Regions from separate parts of the Homo sapiens genome. Here region 2 is linked to region 1. The links are contacts of gene promoters, found by promoter capture Hi-C in blood cells and fetal thymus (Javierre and others, 2016). All regions are on one chromosome and are shown on one strand. Each heading gives the region's core, a stretch centred on a gene start or on the middle of the fragment in contact. The rest is flanking DNA. Distances are from core to core; before and after follow the strand shown. Region 1 holds the start of TMEM238 (transmembrane protein 238). Region 2 overlaps LENG8 (leukocyte receptor cluster member 8).

Region 1 (6,726 bases), core at 4,227-6,726:
CCAGCTCCCCAGGGGCCAGTGGCAATTTTCTTGGAGGTGCGGTACAGTCTAAGACTAGTCCTACCCATCCCTCCCTCCCTCTCCCTGCACCAAGCTACCCTACAAAAGTGTTTCCCCAAGACATATCTTGCAAGTCCAGTTTGTCTCTGTGTCTGCTTCTCAGTGAACCCAAACTCACACAGGGATGTTGGGGCTTAGAGTGGAGGGTCTGGGCTAAGATCCTTATCCCCCGCCCCCTCTCTGGCCCCCTCTGAGAAGGGGCCAGCATAAGGCTAGGCTCCTATATCCCCAGGGCTCCTGGTCTCCCCAGGGCAGGGGCAGCCTCACCTCAGGTGTGGCCAGGCCCACCTGGGTGCTAGAAGGAAGCAAGCCACCTCGTCTCCATTCCCACCCCAGCAGGGTCCCTCTCCCAGACAGACATGCAGCACTAAGGCAAATCTGCTTTTTATCCAAGTGAGGAGGGAGGGGGTACAGGGAGCGTCCGTCTGGCCACGGATGTAGGGGCAGCTGCACATCTCAGTCTGGTCCTGACAGCTGGAGCCAAGGGGTTGTCTGCAGGAGGGAGGGTGGAGTGAGCGACTGCTCAGGAACCCCTCCCATCCCTGTTCCGGGCTCTCTGCCTGCGGGGGCAGAGGCAGGGAGCCCCATCCGCCTGCCCTTGCCGCTCACATGGACTCACACACTTGCTCCTTCATCCCTGCATGCCCCCATTTGCTGAGTGTGTGCATGCGTGTGTACCTTTAACGCCCTGAAATCCAAGGGTAGAGGCCAGGGAATGCGAGCCAGGGAGAGGCAGAAAGGGGGAGACGAAGACATGCAGAAGGGGAAAGGCAGAAGCACAGGGACAAAGAAAGAGACCTGGGAGACAGAGACACAGAGACAAAGAGTGAGAGAGAGGGAGACAGGCAGACACAGTGAAGACAGAAGGAGGCCGGGCATCGTGGTCCTCATCTCAGACCCTCACCCCAGCATTTTGGCTGCAGGCAGGAGGATCACTTGAGCCCAGGAGTTTGACACCAGCCTGGGTAACATAGGAAGACCCCGTCTCTGGTACCTGTAGTCCCAGTTCCTTGGGAGGCTGAGGTGGGAGGATTGCTTGAGCCCAGGAGGTGGAGGCTGCAGTGAGCTGTGATTGCACCACTGCTCTCCAGCCTGAACAACAGAGTGATGGGGGTGGCTCTGCCCGGCTACTCATGGTGGTCTCGGAGGTTGTGGGGGTACCAGAGCCAGAACCTGTGGGTCCCTCTGCTAAAATTCAGGTTCTCTGTCTTTCATGCGCTGGAAGCTGCTCACTCTCCCCAGTAAACAAGAGTCCTGGGTTTGAACAGGCCCATTTTCCTCTAAGTGGGGCCTACGTTCGAGTCAGTGTGGTCTGAGTCTTTGGTGGAGGCTCCAAGAGTGGAGGCCTGTGCAGCTGTGTTAGACGTTTAAGCTACGTAAAGGATTCTCCTCTCCTCCCCTCCCCTCCCCTCCCCCCTTCCCCCCTCCCCTCCCCCCTTGCCCGTCCCCTCCCCCTTCCCCCTTCCCCCTCCCCTCCCTTCCCCCCTTCCCTCCCTGCTTCCCCCTCCCCTCCCCCTTCCCCCCTCCTCCCCTCCCCTCCCCTCCTCTCCTCTCCTTTTCTTTTTTTGAGATGGAGTCTTGCTCTGTTGCCCAAGCTGGAGTGCAGTGGCACGATCTTGGTTCACTGCAACCTCCGCCTCCCAGATTCAAGTGATTCTCCTGCCTCAGCCTCCCTAGTAGCTGGGATTACAGGCGTCCGCCACCATGCCTGGCTAATTTTTGTATTTTTAGTAGAGACAGGGTTTCACCATGGTTGCCAGGTTGGTCTCGAACTCCTGACCTCAGGTGATCCACCCGCCTCGGCCTCCCAAAGTGCTGGGATTACAGGCATGAGCCACCATGCCCAACCTCATAAAGGATGTTCTTTTCTTTCTTTTTTTGAGACGGGTTCTCACTCTGTCACTCAGGCTGGAGTGCAGTGGCGTGATCTTGGCTCACTGCAGCCTTTGCCTCCCAGGTTCAAGCAAGCAATTCTCCCACCTCGGCCTCCCAAAGTGCTGGGATTACAGGCATGAGCCACTGTGCTCAGCCAGGATTTCCAAAGGTAACAGTAACTACAGGTGCTTATGTTTGCATTCTATGCCAAGCTTCATGTTAGCTTACGCTTCACCCGTGCAAGCAGATGTTCATGCTTTCTTACCCCAGTTCCTTCACTGAATCACGGCACGTAGCATATGATTGGGGTGACTATTTCCCCAAATCTCACAAAGAATAATATATAACTGGTAGCATTCTGGATGCATAGGAGAAAAGTTAATTCCAGCCGGGCACGGTGGTTCACGCCTGTAATCCCAGCACTTTGGGTGGCCGAGGTGGGCGGATCACCCGAGATCGGGAGTTTGAGACCAGCCTGACCAACATGGAGAAACCCCGTCTCTACTAAAAATACAAAATTAGCCAGGTGTGGGGGTGCATGCCTGTAATCCCAGCTACTCGGGAAGCTGAGGCAAGAGAATTGCTTGAACGCGGGAGGCAGAGGTTGCAGTGAGCCGAGATTGCGCCACTGCACTCCAGCCTGGACAACAAGAGTGTAACTCCATCTCAAAAAAAAAAAAAAAAAAAAAAAAAGTTAATTATTTACCTACATAGAACGTCCTAGGATAATAGGGTTTAATTCTTTTACCAAAACCCTATTTGAGAGATGAATTCAGTCACCCAACCATCCATGTGCCATTAAATGCATTCATCCACTCATCTGTGTACTTATCATTCAGCCCCAACCATCTATTCAACTACCCATTCACCCATCTACCTATCTATCCAGAGAGCGCACAGAGGCTGGGCAAACTCTGACTGTCCTATGGATAGTCCTATGGACCAGCCGAGGCCCCTGCCCCAAGGAGTTCCCAGGTGTAACCGCAAGTTAAGGTGCCCTGGGGAGGTGACACAGGCACCCTCATTTCTTTTGTTCAGTAGGAGTCTCTGAGGCCTCCCCAGTACCATGCTGCATGGGTGAGGCCGAGGACACAGAGAAGTATCAGGAAAAGCTCTTGCCCCTTTATCAGGCAGGGCTCCCTCTCCAACCATATCCATTCATGGTTCATTGCCCAATTCACCACCTACCCATATCTACCCATTAAACAACCCATCCATCCGTCAATCCAACCACATCCCTGCATCAACCAACCCATGTATTCACCCATCCACCCACCCACCCATCTGTCCATTCACCCGTCCATCCACCCATCCATCTACCCATCCACCTATCCAACCACCCACCCATCTATGCATTCACCCATCCATCCATCAAACAACTCATCCATCCACGCACCCATCGATCTACCCATCCACCCACCCACCCATCTATCAATCTATCATCCATTCACCCATGCATCCATCAACCAACTCATCCATCCATCCACCCATCCATCTACCCATCCACCCATCCAGCCATCCGTTCTTCCATCCATCCTTCCACTTCCCTACCCAACCATCAACCTTTCCTGATTTCACACTTTTTGCTGGGCAATGCTAGGAACAAGGACGCTAGGGACCTAGGTCTTACCCTCAAGGCACTCCCTGTCAGGTGGGAGAGACAGTAACAACATAGACACAGCACATGGCCATATAAGCAGCAAGAGGGGTCGCTCAGACAATATGAAGACCCAGAGAAGACCCAGAGAAATTAAGTTAAATCTTAAACATGTGAGAAGTTTTCTGGGTGGAGTGGAGACAGCCAAGGGCACTCCTGGTGTAGAGAAGAGCAGGAACAGGGACCAACTGGCTATCTGTGGACTAAGAGACACCATTAGTGCAGAGAGGCAGGAGAAATGGGGCCAAAATATGGGGGGTCCACAGGCCAGTGAGTGCTTCAGTTTAACCAAAGGTGAAGAGGGAGCCACAGCAGGTCTTTGAGCAGAGGCAGGCTAGCTGGAAAGGTGTGTTTAGGAAAGAGATAGAAGGTAGAGGGGAAAGGGGAGTGAATGTGTGGTGGCTTCATTTCTCCTGCTGTTGGTCCTTCTTACTCCTCCTTTTCTAGGCCTACAGGTCAGGAAAATCCCAGCTCCTCCTTTCCTAGGCCTACAGGTCAGGAGAATCCCAGCTCCTCTTTTCCTAGGCCTACAGGTCAGGAGAATCCCAGCTCCTCCACCTACGTGTTGTGTGGCCTTGGGCAAATGTGGCGCCTTTCTGCGCTTCAGTTTCCTCCACTGCAGAATGGGGATGGTAATAGTAGTGACCTTGGAGACCAGTTACATGGAGAGGATTAAATGGGGCCTGGTCTGGGCTCAGTGGCTCACGCCTGTAATCCCAGCACTTTGGGAGGCTGAGGAGAGCAAATCGCATGAGCTCAGGAGGTGGGGACCAACCTGGCCCACATGGCAAAACCCCGTCTCTACTAAATATACAAAAATTAGCCCGGCAAGGTGGGGCGCACATGTATTCTCAGCTACTTGGGAGGCTCAGGTGGGAGGACTGCTTGAGCCTAGGAGGTCGAGGCTGCTGTGAGCTGAGATCACGCCACTGCACTCCAGCCTGGGTGACAGTGAGAGATCCTGTCTCAAAACAACCCCAAACGACAACAAAACAAAACAAAACAAAAAATGGGGCCTGGTGTACCTGGAAGCTGGGGCTCTCCCCGTGCGGGGGGCCTAACTGTGTGACTCGACCCCCACACTTCCCATCTCCAGGGGCAGGGTCTCACAGCCTCCCCCACGTATGCACCTGTGCTTGCTGTGTCTGCGGTTCTCCGCCAGAGCCTTCCCGTCCCTGTCTCCACCCCGCCCTGGGACTCTACCTCCCCATGGCCGCTCTCTGTCTCCATCTGTCCATCGCTCCCCCGTCTGTCTCCATTCCCGTCCCTCCCTCGGTCCCTCCGTCTCCCCGCCCTGCCCCGCCCGCCCCTCACCTGGGCCTCACTCGCTGCCCGCGCCCGCCGCCCCGGGCCCGGCCTCGAGCGTGGCGAGCTGCAGGCGCACGCGGCGGGAGCCGGCGGCGGGCGGCGGGGGCGCGCGGGCGGCTCGGCGCGCTCTCCGGGAGCCGGGCGCGGGGCGCTGGCCCGCGGCGGCGGGCGCCGACCAGCGGCGGGAGAGCTTGCGCGCCAGGCGGGCGAGCGCCGAGGGCCGCAGGCCGTAGTCGCGCTCCAGCTCCTGGCGCGAGATCTCGATGTTGCCGGTGTACCAGAGGATCCAGCCCAGCAGGCTCAGGAACACCAGCAGCGCGCCCGAGTAGATGAGCAGGTCCCCGAAGTCGCGGCCGCGCACCTGCAGCTGCGCGAACACGCCGGTCAGCAGCGCCGCCATGCCCGCCACATCCAGCGCCACGGCCAGCAGCAGCGCCATCCGGCAGCGGCCCAGGCCGGCCGCGGGTGCTGGCGCGGCCGCCGGCGCGGACGGTGCACCCGGCGGGCTCCCCTGCGAGGCGCACACCGCTGGCGCCGCCGCCATGGCCCTGCACCGCCGCCGCTGGCGCCCAGAGAGAGCGTTCCGGGGTGCGGCCCGGTCCGGGGCGGGGTCAGGGGACGGCGCCAGGTGTGCCAAGCTCCCGCCTGGTCACCTGAACCGGGCTGGGCGCGAACCGGCGCGGCCGGGGTTACCCTGGTCGTGGTTTCCGTGCAGGGGCTATTGCTCAGAGGCCTGAGCTGGTGGTAGCCAGGCGCACAGCCACGGGTGCCTAGGGCCCGTGCCACCCAGGGAGGTCACATATGGCCAAAAATCAGGGCATTTTAGTGGTGGCAGCATGGGACACTCGGAGCCGGGCGTGGCGTTGTTTCTGCTCAGTGTCCGCCTCCCGAAGCCTGTGCAGATCAGACAGTGCAGATCAGACAAGGCCTTTAGACACCAAGGAGCTCTGGGACGCGAGAACCAGTAGTCGGGGTGATCTAAGAGGGGAAGCTCCGGGTTCCGCGGAAGCTGAGTTTCCTTCACTCAGCGCGTGTCTTCTGGGGTCTCCTGTGTTCAGCGAATGAAGCCACGGGCACAAGGACGGACGAGACCCATCAGGTCCAGAGCGCACCCGTGGAGGAAGCTGGGCGAACCCCGACTGTCCTATGGAGGATAGTCCTATGGACCAGACGAAGCCCCTGCCCCAAGGAGTGCCCGGGTGTAACCGCAAGTTAAGGAGCCCTGGGGAGGTGACACAGGCACCCTCATTCCTTTTGTTCAGTAGGAGTCTCTGAGGCCTCCCCAGCACCATGCCGCGTGGGTGAGGCCGAGGACACAGAGAAATATCAGGCAAGGCTCCTGCCCCCTTAGGGTGGCCCTGACAACGGATCATAACCTCCCAGGGAGCTGATGGGGTGTGACAGGCACACCATAGGCTGGAGGCACAGGTGGAGGGCAGGGAAGAGGACCGGCAAATCTATAGAATCCTAAAGGGAGCCAAGAGAAGCCACATGCAAATCTCCCTCCCTCCAAACAATTCTCCCTTAGAGGGCATCCGCGCTCCCCTGGGGTGGCAGTCAGCGAGAAGTTTCCGTGTAGGTTCTCCCCAGGCTTAAACAGTTTAAGAGTTTTATTTCAAGAAAACCCTGGGGAGGGCGAACTGCAAGAGGGCTGCCAGGATTAGCCGAGGGATTCCGAATGAAGACGGAGTATTTCCGAACATACACACCTCTCCCAAGAGCGTTTCCGGAGGGTTCCGAAAATACCCGAGCGGGCCTCGGCGCCCTCATTGGCCATCACCGCGAGGGCTTACGAAGACCGGAAATATCCAAAGGTGCCGGGGCTA
Region 2 (6,562 bases), core at 55-2,554, 930 kb before region 1:
CCCCTCACTCCAGCCTTTCTAGTCCACACCCAGAACTCTTCAGATCCTTGACCCCAGTGGCTTTTCAGTCAGCCTCCCCTTTTCTGCCCGGCTTCTCTTGAGTCCATCTACTTTTCTTCCCCACTTTGTGACGTGTTTTTAGCTCCCCCTTAAGTCTCCCTAACTCATTCTTTTTCTCATAGACAGTGAAAAAGCAGTCTGGCTCCCGAGGTCCACCCCTTATACCCCAAGGTCCAGATGGCGGCCAACGTGGGTGATCAACGTAGCACAGATTGGTTAGTGAGGCGAGAGGGATGGAGGCCAGTCGGGAGGGAAAGAGGAAGCAAGACCCAGTGCTGTCCTCTGGGGTGGGACCTCCCGTGGCCTTAGGGGAGGTGATGCCACAATCCCTGTGGGTGGGGGTGGTGGTGAGGCAAACACAGAGGGAAGCATTTGGTTGTGGTGTGGAGAGGGGCAAGCTTTCACCTCTCTGAGCTTTCGTTTTTCACAGTACAGCGCTTGCTTTGCAGAATTGTGATGATTCATTCAAGCAAGTGTAATTAGGAGGCAGCTTCCCAACACTCAATACACAGTCATTTATTTGTTTTTCTGCTGATTCCTTATTTTTTCTCAAAATAGTGTGATAACCTGCCGACTGGGGTGATGTCAGACAGAATTCATTGATTCATGAAAGACATAGCCCTAGGAGGTGCCAAGGCCTGTGTTCAGTTCTGTGGGTTCTGTTAATTGTTTTGTTTGTTTGGTTTTAACAACTGCTGTGTGCCAGGCTCTGGGATAAGTACCTTAAGTAGGTGATCTCATTTATCCCTCCCAGCAGACTCTGAAGCAGAAACCCTTTATCAGCATAGTACAGATTAGAAAACTTAGGCTTAGACTGGTAGTAACAGTTAGATATGGGATCCAGGGGCTGGAATTTGCCTCCCAACTTGCCCACCTGTGTACAGTGGGGAGAACAGGTGTGACTTGATGTCCTCTCTCTCTGCAGGTCTTCTCAGTACAGCATGGTGGCTGGGGCAGGCCGAGAGAATGGCATGGAGACGCCGATGCACGAGAACCCGGAGTGGGAGAAGGCCCGTCAGGCCCTGGCCAGCATCAGCAAGTCAGGAGCTGCCGGCGGCTCTGCCAAGTCCAGCAGCAATGGGCCTGTGGCCAGTGCACAGGTGAGAAGGCCTCATGGGGCTGGGGTACCCTGAGCCAGAGGTTGTGGGAGGGACACAGTCTGGCGTCCTGTTGTATCATTCAGACGGGGTGCTCTGAGGGGAAACATGAAAAGACGTTCCAGGGTATCTAAATCTGAACGGGAAAAAGTTCTGTTTCCTTGAGGAAATTAGGGCGTGATGTGGTTCTGAAGAGGGAGGCCATGCCCATGCCCCTGGTCTCTAACGTGCGTGAGTCTCATGGTAGAGACAGTGGCTCACTTTGCAGATACATGGACCCAGTTTCATCCCTTGGCAATTGGCCACCAGTAAACAGGCTTGCCCTTTGGGGGCCGTGTGCCTGTGGATTTGGGCTGCTGACGGCACATGTGCCTCTGCTTCCACAGTACGTGTCCCAGGCAGAAGCCTCAGCTTTGCAGCAGCAGCAGTACTACCAGTGGTACCAGCAGTACAACTATGCCTACCCCTACAGCTACTACTATCCCATGGTGAGTGCCCAGCCAGTGGGGCGGGGCAGGGCGAGGTGGAGTCTGCTGGGTCGGGGCGAGGTGAAGTGGAGTCTGCCGGGATGGGGCTGGGTGGTGGATGGACTGGAGATCGCAGTGATAACTGCTCAGAAACCCTCTAACTTGCCCAGGAGGTAAATTCCTAGGTCCCCGCCATGAGCCACAAGGTCCTACATACCCGGTTCTGGTCCCTTCTCTCCTCATGCTCATTCTGCCATGGCCATCGAAGCAGAGACCTCCTTGATGCCCGCACCCGCCAGGCCCGCTCTCGCTTTGCCCTGGCTGCAGTGCTCCCTGTGTTGCCGCCTCTTGGAGGTCTCTGCTCAGATGCCGCCTTCAGAGAGCCTCTACCTGACACACTGATTGAAAGTAGCATTCCTGCCTCGCAGCCTGTCCCTCTCCCTTTCTTTGCCATCTTATTGTTTCATGATCCTTATTGCTGGATGTATTACATGTTGATGTCTCCAGCCGGACATGTAATTCCAGCACAAGCTTCATTACAGCATGGGTTTTCCTTTTGTTCTGTCGTAGTGCTTAGAAGAGTTGGCACTCAGTATCGTTGATTATATTCTTCCGAGAACTAGCTAAGTGAGATGTGGGATTGATAGAGGTTTTTCTTTTCCTAATATATGAGAGGATGTGGTGCATTAATATAGTGAAGAGAGAAAGGGGTGAGGGATTGGTAGAGGGTCATGGCTGGTGTAGTTCCTGAGCAGGCTGGGGAAGCGGAAAGGGTAGGCCTCCCACTAAACCCTCCCTCCCTGCGCCTTTGCAGAGCATGTACCAGAGCTATGGCTCCCCTTCCCAGTATGGGATGGCCGGCTCCTATGGCTCAGCCACACCCCAGCAGCCATCCGCACCCCAACACCAAGGGACTCTGAACCAGGTAACATCCTAGCCCAGCTCCCATACCCTGCTCAAGCAGAGGAAGTGTAGATTTTTGAATGAGCTGTCAATGAGGAATGGCTTGTACTCCTTAAGCTGCTTTTTTCCTTCCAAGCAACTCCTGATCTGAAAATGAGGAGGACAGAGCATAGTGTTTGAACCTGGGGTGGGTTTAAGGCTGAGCCAAGGCCAGGGCTGAGATGTTGAAAGACATCTCATCTTTTTCCCTAGCATGGTCACCCACAGGCGTGCACACACCGGCTGGGTTTTGCATTGAATGTGCAGCTTGGAGGAATGGCCGGGCTAGTGCACAGGAGGCAGGTAGACCTGGGTTTGAATCCCAGCTGTCCCACCCCTGGTGTAATTACGCATCTCGGTCAGCTCTCGAAAGCGGGAAGGATGGTAGCCTCATCCTTGGGCTCCATGAGTGTGTGTGCTCATGGGTGTCTTGTGCTCAGATGGTAGCGCTGGAGTGGGTGTGTTGTCGGTGGCTGTTACTCCAGCATTGAAACGCTGCCAGCTGCCGCTTCATAGCTTAGGGCCCTGGGAAGTCGCTTAGTCTCTGAGCTGGAGCCTTGTCAGCTGTGAAAAGGGCTGTTAACAAATGTTAACCTCACAGAGTTACTGAGGACTCGAATGAACTCACATTTGGGAAGGTCACGGGAGGGTTGAGTGCTGAGTGCTGTGACCACTGCGTCCTCACAGCGAGGGCTGAGTGCCACTCGCCAGCCCCAGAATCTGCCTCCCGTGCTCAGCGCCTGCTTCCTTCTGCAGCCCCCAGTCCCCGGCATGGATGAGAGCATGTCCTACCAGGCTCCCCCTCAGCAGCTGCCGTCGGCTCAGCCCCCTCAGCCCTCAAATCCCCCACATGGGGCTCACACGCTGAACAGTGGCCCTCAGCCTGGGACAGCTCCAGCCACACAGCACAGCCAGGCGGGGCCCGCCACGGGCCAGGCCTATGGGCCACACACCTACACCGAACCTGCCAAGCCCAAGAAGGGCCAACAGCTGTGGAACCGCATGAAACGTAAGTTGGCAGAGCTACGTGGAGGTCCGAGCGGTTGGGCCCTCATAAGAGCTCCTGGGTGTGAGGCCCGTGGTGTGTGCTGCTCCTTGTTTCTGGGTGTTGTGATCGCCAGGCTGGGGGTGGGGCTGCTCTGGACCAGGCACATGTGTGCTGGAGCCCTCCTCTAGAACCTGAGCGCTCCTCCCTGCATTTCCACTTCCTCCCGTCCCCTGGGGACCCCTGGATGTGCCGGGGAAGGGCCTAACCATAGCTTTCGCTGCCCTCACAGCCGCCCCTGGGACTGGAGGTCTCAAGTTCAACATCCAGAAGCGACCCTTTGCTGTTACCACCCAGAGCTTTGGCTCCAACGCAGAGGGCCAGCACAGTGGTTTTGGCCCCCAGCCCAACCCTGAGAAAGTTCAGAACCACAGGTGACGTCTGCCCCCTTGCCCCGTCGCAGCCCCACACTCTGCACTCAGCGTCTATGGTCCAGTCCCACTGGCCAGCTGCCCACCCTGAGCCTCAGTGTGCGCCTCTGAAAAGGGCAGAAGGACCCTCTCTTGGGGGTTGCTGTGAGCACTGAAGGAGACAGAAGGAAAACTTGGGGACTGCGTCCCGCTGTGTCAGCTCAGAGTGGCGGTGGGGATGGTCTTTTGAGTTTGGGATCGTCTCCAGCTGAGCCCCTCATCTGTCCTCCCGCAGCGGGTCCTCTGCCCGGGGGAACCTGTCTGGGAAGCCGGATGACTGGCCCCAGGACATGAAAGAGTATGTGGAGCGCTGCTTCACCGCCTGTGAGTCGGAGGAGGACAAGGACCGCACGGAAAAGCTGCTCAAGGAGGTGCTGCAGGCGCGGCTGCAGGACGGCTCGGCCTATACCATTGACTGGAGCCGGGAGCCCTTGCCGGGGTTAGTCTGGGTGGGGGACATAGGTGGGAGGGTGGTGCTGTGAGAGGCATGGGCTGGGTATGGAGGTAGGAGAGTTGCGGGTCCCAGGTACCAGGAGCTCCAAAGAGAAATGAACTGGAAAGTTGGATCCTGGGGGGATGAAGTCCTGGTTGGAGGGAGGCCGGTGGGGTGGGGTGGGGACCATGGGTGCTGGAGAGGCGTGCATTGCTCAGTGGTTAAGCGCACCCTCTGGAGACGGAAAACCTGGGTTCGCGTCTCATTTCTGCACTGTAGTAGCTGAGCCGCCTGGGGTAAGTGCCTTTCCTTTCGGAGGCGGGTCGGTACCTTGAGGGAGGTGGTGGCGGCTGTCCTGCCAGTGTCTGGCGGGGTTGGTGACGCCCTGCCCTGCTGTATTCTCAGGCTGACCCGGGAGCCTGTGGCTGAGAGCCCTAAGAAGAAGCGGTGGGAGGCCGCTAGCAGCCTTCACCCTCCTAGAGGGGCAGGCTCGGCGACAAGGGGCGGGGGTGCCCCGTCCCAGCGAGGGACGCCCGGGGCTGGGGGTGCCGGTCGAGCCCGGGGCAACAGCTTCACCAAGTTTGGCAACCGCAACGTCTTCATGAAGGACAACAGCTCTTCTTCCAGCACAGACTCCCGCTCCCGCTCCTCCTCCAGGTCCCCGACGCGCCACTTCCGCAGAAGGTACTGAGGCTCCCGGCTGGGGCTGTGTGTGAGGGAGGGGGAGGCGTTTCAGGCCTGACCCTCCTGCTTCTTCCTGCAGTGACTCCCACTCAGACTCCGACAGCTCCTACTCAGGGAATGAGTGTCACCCTGTGGGCCGCAGGAACCCGCCCCCTAAGGGCCGGGGCGGTCGAGGGGCCCATATGGATCGGGGCCGAGGCAGGGCGCAGCGTGGGAAGAGGTGAGACTGTGTGAGGGCTCGACACACGGGCCAGGGTGGAGGAGGGTACTGGGGACCCATGGGAGAAGGAGGAGGAGGGCCGGACAGGTGGACAGCCAGCTGCCAAAGGGGCGAGGCTGAAGGGGGGCTGGAGACGCCTGTCGCGCTCACTGCCCCTCATCCCTTCCTAGGCACGATCTGGCGCCCACCAAGCGCAGTCGAAAGAAGATGGCGGCGCTGGAGTGTGAGGACCCGGAGCGAGAGCTGAAGAAGCAGAAGCGGGCAGCCCGCTTCCAGCACGGACACTCCCGCCGCCTGCGCCTCGAGCCCCTGGTGCTGCAGATGAGCAGCCTGGAGAGCAGTGGGGCTGACCCTGACTGGCAGGAGCTGCAGATCGTGGGCACCTGCCCTGACATCACCAAGCACTACCTGCGCCTCACCTGTGCCCCCGACCCGTCCACCGTGCGCCCTGTGGCAGTAAGTGCCCAGCAGGGCAGTTCTGCTCTGTGAGGCCGTGCTGGCTCAGGACTTGGGGAGCCAACCCAGGGAGGGTGGCAGAGGCCACACGGGGGCTCTGGTATGGCAGGGGAAGCTCGGCCAGAGACGCCTCGGCTGGTCGGCATTCTGAGAGGAGCGCAAAGGCGCTCTGCTGCCCTGGAGCCCCGCGTGGCGGGTGTGCAGCTTGGCCGGCGAATCGCTTGACCTCTGGGCCGTGGTTCCTGGCTTAGGTGACACGGAGCATAAAGCCTTCTCCCAGGCCCGTGGGCTGTGGGGCGTGGGGGGCTGTGTTTCCAGTGTTTGGCGTAGTCACTGTTCTGCTGCAGAACCTGTGAACAGCCATGTGCTTATAGGGAAATGGGTGTGGAGGTGGCCACTCTTAACCCATGTCTTGTGGGTTTGTTTTCTCTTTTTTTGGGAGAGAGTCTGGCTCTGTCGCCCAAGCTGGAGTGCAATGGCGTGATCTTGGCTCACCGCAGCCTCCGCTCCCCGGCTTCAAGCGATTCTCCTGCCTCAGCCTCCCTAGTGGCTGGGATTACAGGCGTCTGCCACTACGCCTGGCTGATTTTTGTATTTTTAGTAGAGACGGGGTTTCACCATGTTGGCCAGGTTGGTCTCAAACTCCTGACCTCAGATGATCCACACACCTCGGCCTCCCAAAGTGCTGGGATTACAGGCGTGAGCCACTGCGCCTGGCCTTTTTTTTCTTTTTTTAATGTTGCAACTC

Evidence for each region. The method cuts DNA at HindIII sites, captures the fragments that hold promoters and counts their contacts. A CHiCAGO score of 5 or more calls a contact.
Region 2: a fragment that was not itself captured here is called in contact with the fragment with the promoter of TMEM238 in region 1 in 4 of 17 cell types (non-activated CD4 T cells, total CD8 T cells, activated CD4 T cells and 1 more); the score reaches 5.9 in non-activated CD4 T cells.

Annotation. Positions count from the first base shown.
Region 1 is chr19:55,378,816-55,385,541 of GRCh38, forward strand. It overlaps TMEM238 (transmembrane protein 238), which reads right to left and starts at 5,477. Exons shown (of 2, transcript NM_001190764.2): 1 at 4,907-5,477; 2 at 429-552. The coding sequence starts at 5,444. The coding sequence ends at 4,914. RefSeq lists enhancers at 480-980, 5,077-6,039, 5,993-6,062, 6,093-6,162 and silencers at 4,983-5,072, 5,363-5,702. The HindIII fragment of the contact is 6,498 bases long and covers 2,146-6,726 here.
Region 2 is chr19:54,451,108-54,457,669 of GRCh38, forward strand. LENG8 (leukocyte receptor cluster member 8) reads left to right here. Exons shown (of 16, transcript NM_052925.4): 2 at 183-275; 3 at 986-1,160; 4 at 1,544-1,645; 5 at 2,439-2,549; 6 at 3,323-3,575; 7 at 3,844-3,985; 8 at 4,257-4,460; 9 at 4,860-5,138; 10 at 5,218-5,358; 11 at 5,529-5,814. The coding sequence starts at 238. Among named protein-coding and RNA genes, the nearest start is that of LENG8, 5.2 kb to the left of the region's middle. The HindIII fragment of the contact is 1,697 bases long and covers 457-2,153 here.